Linked DNA regions of Homo sapiens: region 2 is linked to region 1. Evidence: promoter capture Hi-C in 16 types of primary human blood cells and fetal thymus (Javierre and others, 2016). All regions are on one chromosome and are shown on one strand. Each heading gives the region's core, a stretch centred on a gene start or on the middle of the fragment in contact. The rest is flanking DNA. Distances are from core to core; before and after follow the strand shown. Region 1 holds the start of NPPC (natriuretic peptide C). Region 2 overlaps ALPI (alkaline phosphatase, intestinal).

Region 1 (6,501 bases), core at 4,002-6,501:
GCTATTTCTTCCACTAACAGCAGAAGATGGAGTAGAATTTACAGGACCCTAAGTCAGCTGAATTCAAAATTAATTTTTTTTTTGAGATGGAGTCTTGCTCTGTTGCCCAGGATTGGGGTGCCGTCTGTGATCTCGGCTCACTGCAACCTCTGCCTCCTGGGTTCAAGCAATTCTCCTGCCTCAGCCTCCCGAGTAGCTGGGATTACAGGCACCTGCCACCACGCCCGGCAATTTTGGTAATTTTAGTAGAGATGGGGTTTCACCATATTGGCCAGGCTGGTCTTGAACTCCTGACCTCAGATGACCCACCCACCTTGGCCTCCCAAAGTGCTGGGATTACAGGCACCTGCCACCACGCCCGGCCGTCATTAATTTAATTCATAACATCTGACTTCCTAGCGGTCAGGTGTTTGAGCAGAGCTTCCTGACCTGGCTGAGCTGGTCAGAATCACTTGGGACGAAACTTACACAGCCAGTCCTATCAGATTCGGAGAAGGCAGGAATCTGTATTTTTAGCAAGGTCTCCAGGGGATTCTGACACAGATAAATCCAGAATTGGGAATCTGCCTGTCAGACCTATTTGGAGGCAATGCCTTTTCTTCACATTCTCCCTCTTTCTCAGCCTAAGTCCTAAAAAATACAGGCAACAAGTAAATAAAGACAGTTTTCAAGATATTCATGGAATGACTTTTTTTTTTTTACATTTTTTTTAACTAGTTAGGACAAAAACATTACAATGATTGACTTCTTTCATTTAGTTACATAAATAAAATTTTTATAAATATCTCTTTATAAACAATATAAATAGCTTTACAACATAAATACATTTATGCATGACATGAATTTACAAACAGCAATGTTTTACAGCTGGTTCTGTCAGTCTCTTAAAAACTGTCCCTTGTCATCAAGTCGGTGTAGGTGTGTGTGTTTCATGTATATAATATATATATAATATATAACTTTTTATTTTTCATTTTAAAAAAACAAATAATAAAATCACAACCCCCTCCCCAAATAATAATAAAACAGCTGGTGTTGTGTATTCCCAGTACCAGGAAAAAAAAAGAAAGAAAGAAAGAAATGTAAAAGCCACATTGCGTTGGAGGTGTTTCCAGATGCTGGAGGCTGATGACCAAAGATGACCTCAGCACAACGGAGCCAGTTCCCGATCCTGAAACACAGAGTGAACACGGGACGCTCAGTTCTGGCCCCTTAGCTGAGAAATCCTAGCAGGCAGGGTGGTTCTAGAACCTTTCCTCCCCTTCTCCCAGCAGCTTGAGGGATGTTCCCCTACCTCCGCCACCCCCCCAACCAGGCCTTCCTGCAGAGGGGAGGAGCCCCCCATTGCGCACTCCCCAGGCCCCTTCTGCTTTGCTGCCCCAGTACAAGTGGAACCAGCGTGTCTGCAACACTCCTTCTTCCCCCAGTCTAACCACAGGCCTTGCCCTTGGCACTCAGGGAAGCGCAGTGAGAGAAAGAGAATGGAAAATCTCCCATCCCTTTTTTGCTACAACGCAAACCCTCAGTCAGTGCTCGCCCGGGGTTCGTGTGTCTGAGTGACCATGGATGGAAGGAGAAGAGAGACATCTCAGGATCAGGAATCCTGGGCTCAAATCTCTACTCTGACGTTGGGTCCCTGGATGACCCTGGATAGCTGGGAGTGTTCACCCATAAAATTGGATAATAGCCACCTCCTAGGGCTGGCTTTCAGATTCAACAGGGAGCCTCGGATCGGGCATCGGCAGTGTCTGGGTCACAGCTGCCACCCAGTAAACAGCACCTCCTTCCCTAGCTGGTTGTGCAGAGGAAAGGGTCTGGGTCCAGGTCCCCTTCAGGAGCAGAGGAAATGGTGTCTCACACCAGCCTTGGGGAAATGCACAGTCATGGGCTCTGAGTGTTGTTAGGGTAAACTCTCTGCTAATGGGTGTGTGGGTGCCCCGGGGCCCAAGGAAGGTGGCCTTCAGGGGCGTTCAGTGCCCTCCCAAAGGACAGCATGCACAGAGGGGACCTGGGCCAGAATGGCTTGATGAACCCTCCCCCACTCCCTTCTCTGGCTCTGCCGTGAGTTTACACAGATGACAGCTGTCTGTGATGTTGCTGGGCCCCAGGGGCAAAGTGTTCATTCAGGTTTCACCTACACCCAGTCTCTGTCATTAGCATTTTACAATGAATACCTAGAACCATCAACCACCATCATTACGGTGGCTTAGAGCCCAGGTCACCCACTGCGTGGAGAAACAGCCACAACCTCAAAGAGTTTTCATTAATGTGAAAAATCTAAGCTGTCTTTCTCTTTACGCCCAGTGATATATCCTGGGCATCGTCACCAGGAGCCTGCAGGAATGATGTTCTGCTCTCTCACTGGGAATGGGGGGCAGTGAGGGTGGGGTTTTTATTTTTCATTTAAAAAATCCCAAATAATAAATCCACACCGCCCTTCCCAAATAATAATAAAACAGCTGGTGTTGGGCGTAAGCCGGTGTTGAAGGTGTCGACGGTAAGTGTTCATCTATGCTAAGAGAGCTGGTAGGAGATTATTGAACCCCCCTGATCAAAGGGGTCGAGAATTCTTAACAATGTGGATTCCTCCTACACAGCATCTTTCACCACCCGTTTGGCCATCACTTGGTGACCACAGACATCCAGGCCCAAGAACAAAGCCCCTGTGGGGATGCGCATTCCAGGTACGAACCAATGGAGAGTCACTAACATTTGCTCAGGTTCTAAAGTTTGAACTTGATGCTTAAATCAAACTGAAAATTTGAGGCCTCAGACTCCGTCTCTTTGTTGTTTAGACAGGAGAGAAGAGAGCAAAGGCATTCCAAGGGTAGCTACTGAAGGCTGGTCCCCAAGTGTCAGAATCATTCTTCTCCCTGTGCAGGGGAGAGTCAAGATCACAGACAACTACAGCCTTTGCAGAACTGGGGAGAGGCCCACAGCCGAGTGAGGTCTGGCTGCAAAGAGAGGAAGGGCACTGGTTAAAACCTCGGGCAGGTGGGAGTGGCCATGGGCCAGGGTGTGCTGGTTTCTCTGGTCATTGACAAATATTTCCACGAGTCTGTTCGGGGTGCAGTGGGTCCTAGAGTGCCTTAGGCCAGCACTTCGCCCTTAAGCTGTTCAATATGGAGAGGTGAATGGGTTCACAAACTGTGAAAAAGTGTTCTGTACTGTAAAAAAGAGACAGTGTGCTGGACAGGCGCTCTTGTTTCCCTCCGGGAGAAGATCCGACACTGACAAGGGTTTCTGGGGAGGAGACAGCAGCTTGCCCGTAGCCTGGGATGGGACAGTCAAGGTGTGGGACAGGCAGTGGCAGCTGCTGAGCTGGAGGCAAGAAAGCGAGAAAGCCAGGTAAGCCTGATCCTAACGCACATGACTGTCAATGTCAGAGGCTGGGATGTTATTCAGTGGGCACGGGCAGGCGGCAGGAATAGAGAGGAGGGAAAGAGGAGAGGTGAGGCTCTCTGCAGCAGTAAATTACCACCACGCGGCACCCGGCAGGGGGTGGCGGTAGGGCAGAGGTTTCCAGCCCTAGTGCGGGGTGAGACCCCACACCAGAAACGGAGCCCAGAGCACCGGTTGGGTCGGGACAGGGTTGGTGAGGGACTCTGGGACGTGTTGAGTTCGAGGCTGGGGCAAATAATATTTACTTTAGTGTCTTTCCTATTCCCTGAAATAGTGCCACAAGCACTGAGATTCACCCCCGAAGCCACCAGGCTGCAGCTGCCTCAGGACCCTGGACAGACCAGTTTGCCCACTGCCTGGGTTTAGAGAAGGGACAGGAATCGGAGTGTCCCAGGCAGAAGGGCGCTCTGACAGTGCCAGCAGAGGGCTACTCTCACTACAGGGGGCATGGTGGCCAGCAGATGATCGATGTCCCCTGGACTTGTGGGTGTAACCTTCCTTCTCTGCTCCCACAAACCCATGATCTCCTCTCAATCCCCCCACCAGCTGGCCAATAGGGGCCAGTGCTGCTAGTTCAGCTACGGTTCAGGGGTGGGTGAGACACCACCAAGCCTGTTTCTGCTTCTCCAGAAGAAGCCAGGTGGGTTCAACCAGGCTGAGCCGTTTCTGACCTTGCCAAAGTTCCCCGATCACGTTATCCTTCGCTTTCTTTGTCTGTAAAGTGGGATAATAAAGGGGGCGGCTGGCAAACGCCTAGCACAACTTGAGCAAAGGCGGCTCGCGCGCCTCCGAAGGCCGGCTGGGCGGCGGGCGGTCCCGGGCCGGGCTGGGGCTGGGCGTCGGGTGGGCCGTACTCACCGCCGCCAGGGGGCGCCGCACTAACATCCCAGGCCGCTCATGGAGCCGATTCGGTCCAGCTTGAGGCCGAAGCAGCCCTTGGACAAGCCCTTCTTGTTGGCTCCTTTGTATTTGCGCGCGTTGGGGTGCTCTTGCAGAAGGCGAGCCCACGCTGCCCGCGACTTGGTGTCCACGCGCAGGTCCCGGAGCAGTCGCGACCGGTCGCCCTTGAGATTGGCGCCCCCGCCCCCGGGAGCCTTGTCGCCCTTCTTCTGACCGCCGCCCGCAGCCTGCGGCTCGGCCAGCTCCTCTGCCGGCGGGGTTCGCGGGACCTGTCCGAGGAAAGAGCGGGCAGGTGAAGGGACACGCGGCTGCAGCACGGGGGACTCTGATGCTCCAGCCCCACGCGCCCGCCGGCGCGGGGTGTCCCTCCCAAGCCCAGAGCCGCCCCCACCGATGCCGGCCAGCTTGGCCCCGCATCCACCTGCCACGCGGCCGCCTTCGCCGCTCCCTCCGGAAGCCCCCTGCCCTCCCTTTGCTGCTCGCCGGGCAGGCCACACTGGGGTAGGGGGCTGCGCATGGGCCGATGTTCTCCGGAGGCTGGAGAAGTGGACCCCCGAATCCGCGCTTCGAGGGCTCCCCGGCTCTCGCCCACGCGCATCTCGGAGGAGACAGCCGCCTGCCTTCCCTCTCTCCTGGGTCCTGCGCGCCGCATTCTCCAAGCCCCCAGCCTCCCACGCCTCTCCCAGGCTCGGCGTCCCCACGACAGCACCCACCTTCGGCGGCGCCCCGGGCTTGGCTTCGGAGGGCCGGAGGGAGAGCAGCGTGAGCAGCAGGGCGCAGGCCAGCAGCTGGGAGAGATGCATGGTGCCGCTGGGGTCGAGGGGCGCACACGGGCGGCAGCGAGGGCGCGCAGGTCGGCGGGCAGACCAGCAGGGGGATGCGGAGCAGGCTGGCTGGGCTGCAGGGCGAGCAGGGTCCCAGTGCTGCGCGGCGCCGGCTGGGTGCGCTCTGAGCCCGTGACTCTGCTCGCGCCTTTATAATCCAACCTGCCGCTGATGTCATCCTCCCGCCCACCGGGCCGCCCGGGCCAATGACACCACGCACGCGGCCGCGCCGAGGGCCGGGAGGGGGCCGCGGGGGCTCCCCTCCCTTATCCCACCCCGGAGGGATCCCGCGGCTCGGCGGGCTCGCTCCAGGCTGCACTTGGAGCTGCAGAGCTGAGCGCACAGGGGAACTCCATTTGCAGCGAGCGCGCGCCCTGGCCTGCCGAGCATCGGTGCGCCTGGTGCCCTGTGCACCCACTAGGTCCTCATCGCACTCACTCTACCTGGAAGGGATACGTAGCCCTCTTTGCAGGTGCAAAGACAGGCTCAGAGGAATGAAGTCACTTGCCCAAAGTCATACAGGCATAAAGTTGGCGCTGCCCGAAATCCACGCAGCCCTGCTTGTCGCCAAACTCTTCCCTGGGCACCTGACAGCCGCGGGATGGCATTGCAGCTCCGCCTTTCACCTGCCGGTCAGGGCGGGAGCGCAGACCACAGCGACGTCGTTAGGTTGGGGAGGCAGAGGATGGGGTTGGAGGACTGGGGTGGGAGGCGCAGGGAGAGCGGGGTTCGCCTGGGCCGCAGGGGGGAGCGCAAGTCTTCCACACTGGAGAGTGCAGGGGTGTCGCCAGCCTGAGTGTTTGAGCGCAAGGCGGGAACGAGGGGACTGCGAGCGCGGAACCAAGATATTCATGCTCATGCGTGTGCTCCGCGGCATCGTATGCTCGCCAGTTACTGCTCTAGGTTCACGTTCAGCCGGTTTCGGCCACACAGAACGTCCCGGGGTCTGACTCCGCTGGTGAACTCCCTCTGTGGGAACAATGCGCACCTGACCTTGCCTGCACCCACGCGAGGATCCGCTGCTGGGGGAAGCCCGCTCCAGTATCCTGTGCACTTTCACAGGCTGGGGAGAGAGCTTCCTAGCCAGCGGCCCAGTCCAGCCTCTGCCAGCCGTGACAGGTGGTCAACTTCCCGTTTTTGACTGTAGAGAGGTCCCCGTGGCTCTCGGGACATGGCCACATATCCCTACCACTCACGAACTTGCTCTCCTTGCACTGGGCTTCTCGGTCCCTTGGACACTAAGGAGTGTGGTGGGCATTTGGGCACTGCGGTGTGGGCCGCAGAGGCGGAGAGCCCAGATCCCCCGAATTGATTGAAGAGCAGGAATCTATGACTGGCTGCTGCTGAGCAGGACGCAGGCTGGAGAGAGAACAAA
Region 2 (6,463 bases), core at 238-2,737, 540 kb after region 1:
ATTCAATATGCTTTCTTATTTACTAAAACCTTGAAATAAAATTGTAAAACATCAGTTTGAAGGCCTGACTCTCAGGGTAGTTCTTTTTTAATTCTGGGTTTTAGTAGCTGTCACAAAAATATTGGAGGACCATGATCCCACTTGTGAATAGCCATAGGACTCCAGCCTGGGAAGCATAGCGAAAATCTGTGTCTAAAAAATGAAATAAAAGGATGAATTTTATGGTATGTAAATTATATCTAAATTTTAAAAAACAGATTCGAATATATAATCTGCTTTCAAGTTTTTTTAAATGTGTAGGGATCAGGGTTTTATCAGTCAAATACATTTTTTACCACAAAATTCACATGTCAATGAAAACATTCTCAAACTTTGGTTCTAAAAAATGTTTTCTTTGGCATGAGTTTTCATTCCAAGATGATTACTTTCTCATTTTTTCATTGAAAGGACATCTTTACCTTGAAGGAGCAGATGCAAGAAAAGTACAATTATTTTTCAAGCTTTTTCCTGATTGCCTAAAACAGACAGCTCTTGTCATCTCAAAAGTGTCAGCATTTTGGTCTTTAGGAAGGAGGGAGCCCGGGCGCAGTGGCTCACGTCTGTAATCCTAACACTCGGGAGGCCAATGTGGGCAGATCATTTGAGGTCAGGAATTCGAGACCAGCTTGATCAACATGGAAATCCCATCTCTACTAAATATACAAAAATTAGCCAGGCATGGTGCCGTACACCTGTAATCCCAGCACTTTGGGAGGCTGAGGCGGGCGGATCATTTGAGGTCAGGCGTTTGAGACCACCCTGGTCAACATGGTGAAACCCTGTCTCTACTGAAAAGACAAAAATTAGCCAGGCGTGGTGGTGGGGGCCTATAATCCCAGCTACTCCGGAGGCTGAGACAGGAGAATTGCTTGAACCTGGAGGCGGAGGTTGCAGGGAGCCGAGATCACATCACTGCCTCCAGCCTGGGTGACAGAGCGAGACTCCCTCTCAAAAAAAAGAAGGAGGGAGGTGGGAGTGGGGGTGAGGATTTAAAAATTACCTATCGGGTACAAGCTCATTATATGGGTATTGGGTTCACTAGAAGCCTAATCTCCACCAGTATGCAGTCTACCCATGTAATAAACAAGCACATGTACCCCTGAATCTAAACTTTTAAAAAAGAATATTCACAGGAAAAAAAAAGAGTTAATCACAGGGAAGCAGAAACAGACATACATTAAAAATTACTGATAAATTTTTTAAAAATAAGGAGGGAGGGCCAGGCACGGTGGCTAACACCTATAATCCCAGCACTTTGGGAGGCCGAGGTGGGCGGATCACGAGGTCAGGAGATTGAGACCATCCTGGCTAACACGGTGAAATCCCGTCTCTACTAAGAATACACAAAATTAGCCGGGCTTGGTGGCGGGCGCCTGTAGCCCCAGCTACTTAAGAGGCTGAGGCAGGAGAATCACTTGAACCCAGGAGGCGGAGGTTGCAGTGAGCTGAGATCACATCACTGCACTCCAGCCTGGGCGACAGAGTGAGACTCCGTCTAAAAATAAATAAATAAATAAGGAGGGAGGGAAAGTCAAGCAGAGAGGGAGGGGAACTTGGGGCAACCCTCTTCGGTATTTTGCTATGAAGATAAGTCATTCTGTGTGGCTGGAAAGTTTTCATGGTCCACCCAATCTCCTTACCAAGTATGGGAAAGATTCTACTGTAATGCCACAGTCTTGGCTTTATAACATTAGCCCACTGATGGTCTGCAACATTCTATGCCCTCCAGGCTTCTACCTCTTCCCTGCGCTGATTAGACTGTGGATGAGCCAATGAGTGAGGGGTAAGGGTGAAGCCACCTCTGCACCCTGATTCGTATCCAGAATCCTTTTTTAAAAAACCCTTTCTGAGTAGCTATTCTATCTGTGGTTGCATTTTTACCGTTTTTCCCATATGACATCGTTTTTATTAAAGAAGGCATTTACTGTTGGCAATATATCTTGTCTGCTATATCTTCCCTTTAGTGGCTCAAAAAAAAAAAAGGAAAGAAAGAAAGAAGTGGTTTGTGTATTTCATTATTGGAATAGAACCTGGCAAATACCTTCAGCTGAGCCATGTTGGGAACATCTGTGCTTTCAGCACACTGCAAAGCAAACCTCCCACACTGGGTAATTTGCTCTAACATGAGTTTCTTCCAATCTTCGGCAGTGTTTTCTCTACATCTTTCGATGGTGTTTGCTGACAAAGAAATGCCTTTCGGTTTGTCGACAGATCATTTATTGTTCATTGTTTCTGCCATTTTTCCTGCAGCAGAAAGAATAAGTGTCTGCCCATTGGTAGATGTTTTTTGCTTCATGCTATCATGCAAGAAACTTTAAAAGAGCTTTCCAAATATTTATCATTGCTTAGGGAAATAACTAAGAAGTACTGGGTTGAACAGCACAGAACTTTAAACACCGCTGGGAAAAAAACTGCTCAGGTTTCTCTTCGGTTCTGAAAGCTTAGTTTTAGACACCTTGCCAACCATGAGGATTTCACACTGCTGATGACTTAATAGCTCCAGGCACCAGGCACCCGGGGCAAACTTCAGCAGTAACCACAGAGTGGGGGAAATTCAAAGAGTTTTGTTTGCTGATTTTTTATTTTAGGGGCTAACTTCTGGTCAGGTCTGTACCCTGAGCTCAGCCAAGAGTAATAAGGAATTCTCAGCTCTCCCTTCTGCTGTGGTTCACCTGCTCTGGATTTCTGGTGTTCATTGCAGATTCCTTACAGGAATCTTGTGTGAGCCACTTGGCCATTTTGGGGGATGAGTTCGGTTAATACCAGATCATATAAGCCGAGCGCGGTGGCTCACGCCAGTAATCCCAGCACTTTGGGAGGCTGAGGTGATCGGCCATCACCTGAGGTTGGGAGTTCAAGACCAGCCTGACCAACATGGAGAAATTCTGTGTCTACTAAAAATACAAAATTAGCTGGGCTTGGTGGCGCATGCCTGTAATCCCAGCTACTCAGGAGGCTGAGGCAGGAGAATCATTCGAACCCGGGAGGCGAAGGTTTTGAGATGGTGCCATTATACTCCAGCCTGGCCAACAAGAGTGAAACTCTGTCTCAAAAAAAAAAAAAAAAACAAGATCATATAATCCATCAATCCACTTAGACGCACTAAACTCTAATCCTCCGCAATCCGCTGAAAGCGTGCAATCCAGAGTGGGTATTGCATCAACCCCTGGTCTCGGGCACCAAATTCCCTTCTTCTGGGACACCAGAGAACTGCGTGGGGTGGTACCTGCATGAAGGGTGAAGGCGCCAGCATGGAACTTGATATTAAACATGAGCTCTTGGGGCGCCCACTGCTCAGGGCTGTGGCAAGGCATATGGCGAGCTGAGCAAACAGTAGGCACTCAGGAGTGCCTGACATCCCTTTAACCAAACCCCAAGGTCCAGGTGAGTTTTGAAGTACTTGAGTACTGGGCAGGATGCCCAGGCTGAGCAACTCCCTGTGAGCAGGGGTATCTCACTCCCTGCAGAGCACAGACCCCAGAAGGCACCACAGGTTCAGTCCCCAGCAGATTCGAAGCCCCCTGCCCATCGAGTTCCCTTGAACCCCTGCCCCTGCACAGATCCAGTGATTGGCACAGGAAGCCTCCAGATCCAGCGAGAGGAGCACACTCCGGCAGCCTCTCGGGAGGACTCAAGGGGGATCCCAGCTGTGCCATTCTGGCCTGGGTGCTGAAGTTGCATCTGATCGTGCCCTGGCCCCACTGGTTCTAGGAACAGGCCTCCCCACCAGGTTAGCAGCTGCATAACTGGCCTCTGCCCCTAGAGGAAGCCTCCCTGAATCTCAGCCTCCCAGAGGGGCTCCAGAGGCCTTCCGGAAGCTGTGTGGGATTTGCAGTTGCACCCCTTCATCTAAGGCGGCCCCAGGGTCTACTGACCCCAGCTGACCATTGACTGCCAGTGCACACACCAGACCCCAACACCAACAAGCAGCTGGAAGCTCCCCTTGATAGAACCTTGCCACTGGGGCTGCCAGTCTTTGCTAATGCGCTTGGCATGGTGCCTGGGAACCAGCCACATGGCTCTTGAGCTGCCCTTCAAGGAGGAAACAGAAGTCCCCTGTCAAAAGATGAGGCCACCATCCACCCTTAACAGGGAGGTGGCCAGGCCCTGGTACCCTGTTCTGGCACTTTCTTTGTTCACCAGATTTGCAAATTTGTTATCAGCCAGCACAGTTTCCCCACCTCCACCCACCCTGTCTGGGCTCCTTAGAGTAAAGGAAAATTCTCCCCAAGGAGCTGCCTTCAGATCTCTCCACACAGATTCCTGACAGCAGTCCCTGCAATGGTTTGGTTCCACAGGATCATAGAAGCTTTTTAAAATTATTATTTATGCAAAATATAGACAAGGAAAGATGCGATTTGACTGCACCATGTGACAGCTTCTTGGGGATTTGAGCTGCCTGCCGGTCCAATGAACCAGCCGTGAGCTGCTGCCAGAGGCTACGGGATCCTGGGTGGCAGCTGAGGTTGGGGAAGCCAGGAACCCATCTTACTCCCTTGCAACCTGATGAGCTCATGCTGGACACAGGCCCAGCTCGGGACTGAACCGTGTAGCCCTCTGGGCACCTTGAACCTTGCACCAGGGTGGTGGGGAGGCTGGGGAGGAGGAGGCATTCACTGTGACCAGTGGGGTTGCTTTATATGTGGATGTGTTTATAGCTTTTATTTTATGTGTGTGTGTGTGTGTGTTTATTCTTTCTTTTTTATTTTATTTTATTTTATTTTATTTTATTTTATTTTATTTTATTTTATTTTTGAGACAGGGCCTAGCTCTGTCTCCCAAGCACGATCTCAGCTCACTGCAAGCTCTGCTTTCTGGGCTCAAGTGACCTCCCAAGTAGCTGGGATTACAGGTGCGCACCACCACACCTGGATAATTTTTGTACTGTTTATAGAGACAAGGTTTTGCCATGTTGTGCAGGCTTGTCTTGAACTCTTGGGCTTAAGCAATGCACCTGCCTTAGCCTCCCAAAGTGCTGGGACTGCAGGCATGAGCCACCATGCCCCGGCCAGTTTTATTTTATTTTTAATTGATAAATAAAAATTGTATATATTTATGGGGTACAATGTGATGTTTCAATACATGTATACATTGCGGAATGATCAAGTCAGGCTAATTAGCATATCCGCCTCCTCAAATATTTATTATTTCTTTGTAATGAGAACATTTAAAATCCCATCTTTGGCTGGGCATGATGGTTCACGCCTGTAACCTCAGCACTTTGGGAGGCCGAGGAGGACAGATCACCTGAGGTCAGGAGTTCGAGACCAGCCTGACCAACATGGCGAAACCCCGTCTCTAATAAAAATACAAAAATTAGCTGGGCATGATGGCACATGCTTGTAATCCCAGCTACTCAGGAGGCTGAGGCAGGAGAATCGCTTGAACCCAGGAGGTGGAGGTTGCAGTGAGCCGAGATAATGCCATTGCCCTCCAGCCTGGGTGACAAAAGCAAAACTCCATCTCAAAAAAAAAAAAAAAAAAGTAAAATCTCATCTTTCGGCTATTTTTAAATATACAATACATTATTATGAACTATAGTCACCTTGCTATGCAATAGAACAGCAGAACTTATTCCTCCTAGTAGCTGTAACTTTGTACCTGTTGACCAACCTCTCCCCTTCCCCGTTCACCTCCCCTCTATGCCTGGCTTATTTCACTTCCTCTTGGTTCATCCATGTTGTTGAAAATGACAGAATTTCCTGTTTTTATAAAGCTGACTAGTGTTCCGTTATGTAAATACACCACGTGCTAAAAATCCATTTACCCGTTTAGGAACACTTAGGTTGTTTCCATATCTCGACTATTGTAAATAATTGTGTCATGACCATGGCAGTGCAGACATCTCTTCCGCATACAGATTTCAATCCTTTGGGTATGTACCCAGTAGTGGGGTTGCTGGATTATTTGATACAGGTAATTCTCTTTTTTTTTTTTAGAGATAGGATCTCACTATGTTGTCCAGGCTGCTCTTGAACTCCTGACCTGAAGCAGTCCTTCCTCCTTGGTCTCCTAGAGTAGAGGGCTGAGATTACAGGCATGAGCCACAACACCTAGCCCTCCAGTTAATTCTATATTTAGTCTTTTGAGAAACCTTCATACTGTTATCCAAAATGGCTGTACTAATTTGCAATGTTACCAACAGTGTATAATGGTTCCCTTTTCTCCACATCCTTGTCAACACTTACTATCTTTCATCTTTTTTATAACAGCCAATCTAACAGGTGTGAGGTGATATCTCATTGTGGTTTTAATTTGCATTTCTCTGATGATTAGTGATATTGAGCACTTTTCCATATAACTGTTGGCCATTTGTATGTCTTGTTTTGAGAAATGTCTGTTCAAGTCCTTTGCCTTTTTAAAATAGGGTTATTTGTTTTTTATTATTGAGTCATTTGAGTTCCTTGTATATTTTGGATATTAG

What was found. Contacts are between HindIII fragments. The CHiCAGO score rates a contact against its expected background, and 5 or more counts as called.
Region 2: a contact is called between a fragment that was not itself captured here and the fragment with the promoter of NPPC in region 1, in 1 of 17 cell types (M0 macrophages). The highest score is 5.8, in M0 macrophages.

The regions. Positions count from the first base shown.
Region 1 is chr2:231,921,145-231,927,645 of GRCh38, forward strand. It overlaps NPPC (natriuretic peptide C), which reads right to left and starts at 5,252. Exons shown (of 3, transcript NM_024409.4): 1 at 5,016-5,252; 2 at 4,261-4,571; 3 at 665-1,171. The coding sequence starts at 5,105. The coding sequence ends at 4,281. RefSeq lists silencers at 4,146-4,235, 4,316-4,365, 5,321-5,540 and an enhancer at 5,942-6,501. The HindIII fragment of the contact is 15,333 bases long and covers 1-6,501 here.
Region 2 is chr2:232,460,693-232,467,155 of GRCh38, forward strand. ALPI (alkaline phosphatase, intestinal) reads left to right here. Exons shown (of 11, transcript NM_001631.5): 11 at 1-61. Among named protein-coding and RNA genes, the nearest start is that of ALPI, 7.8 kb to the left of the region's middle. The HindIII fragment of the contact is 1,979 bases long and covers 499-2,477 here.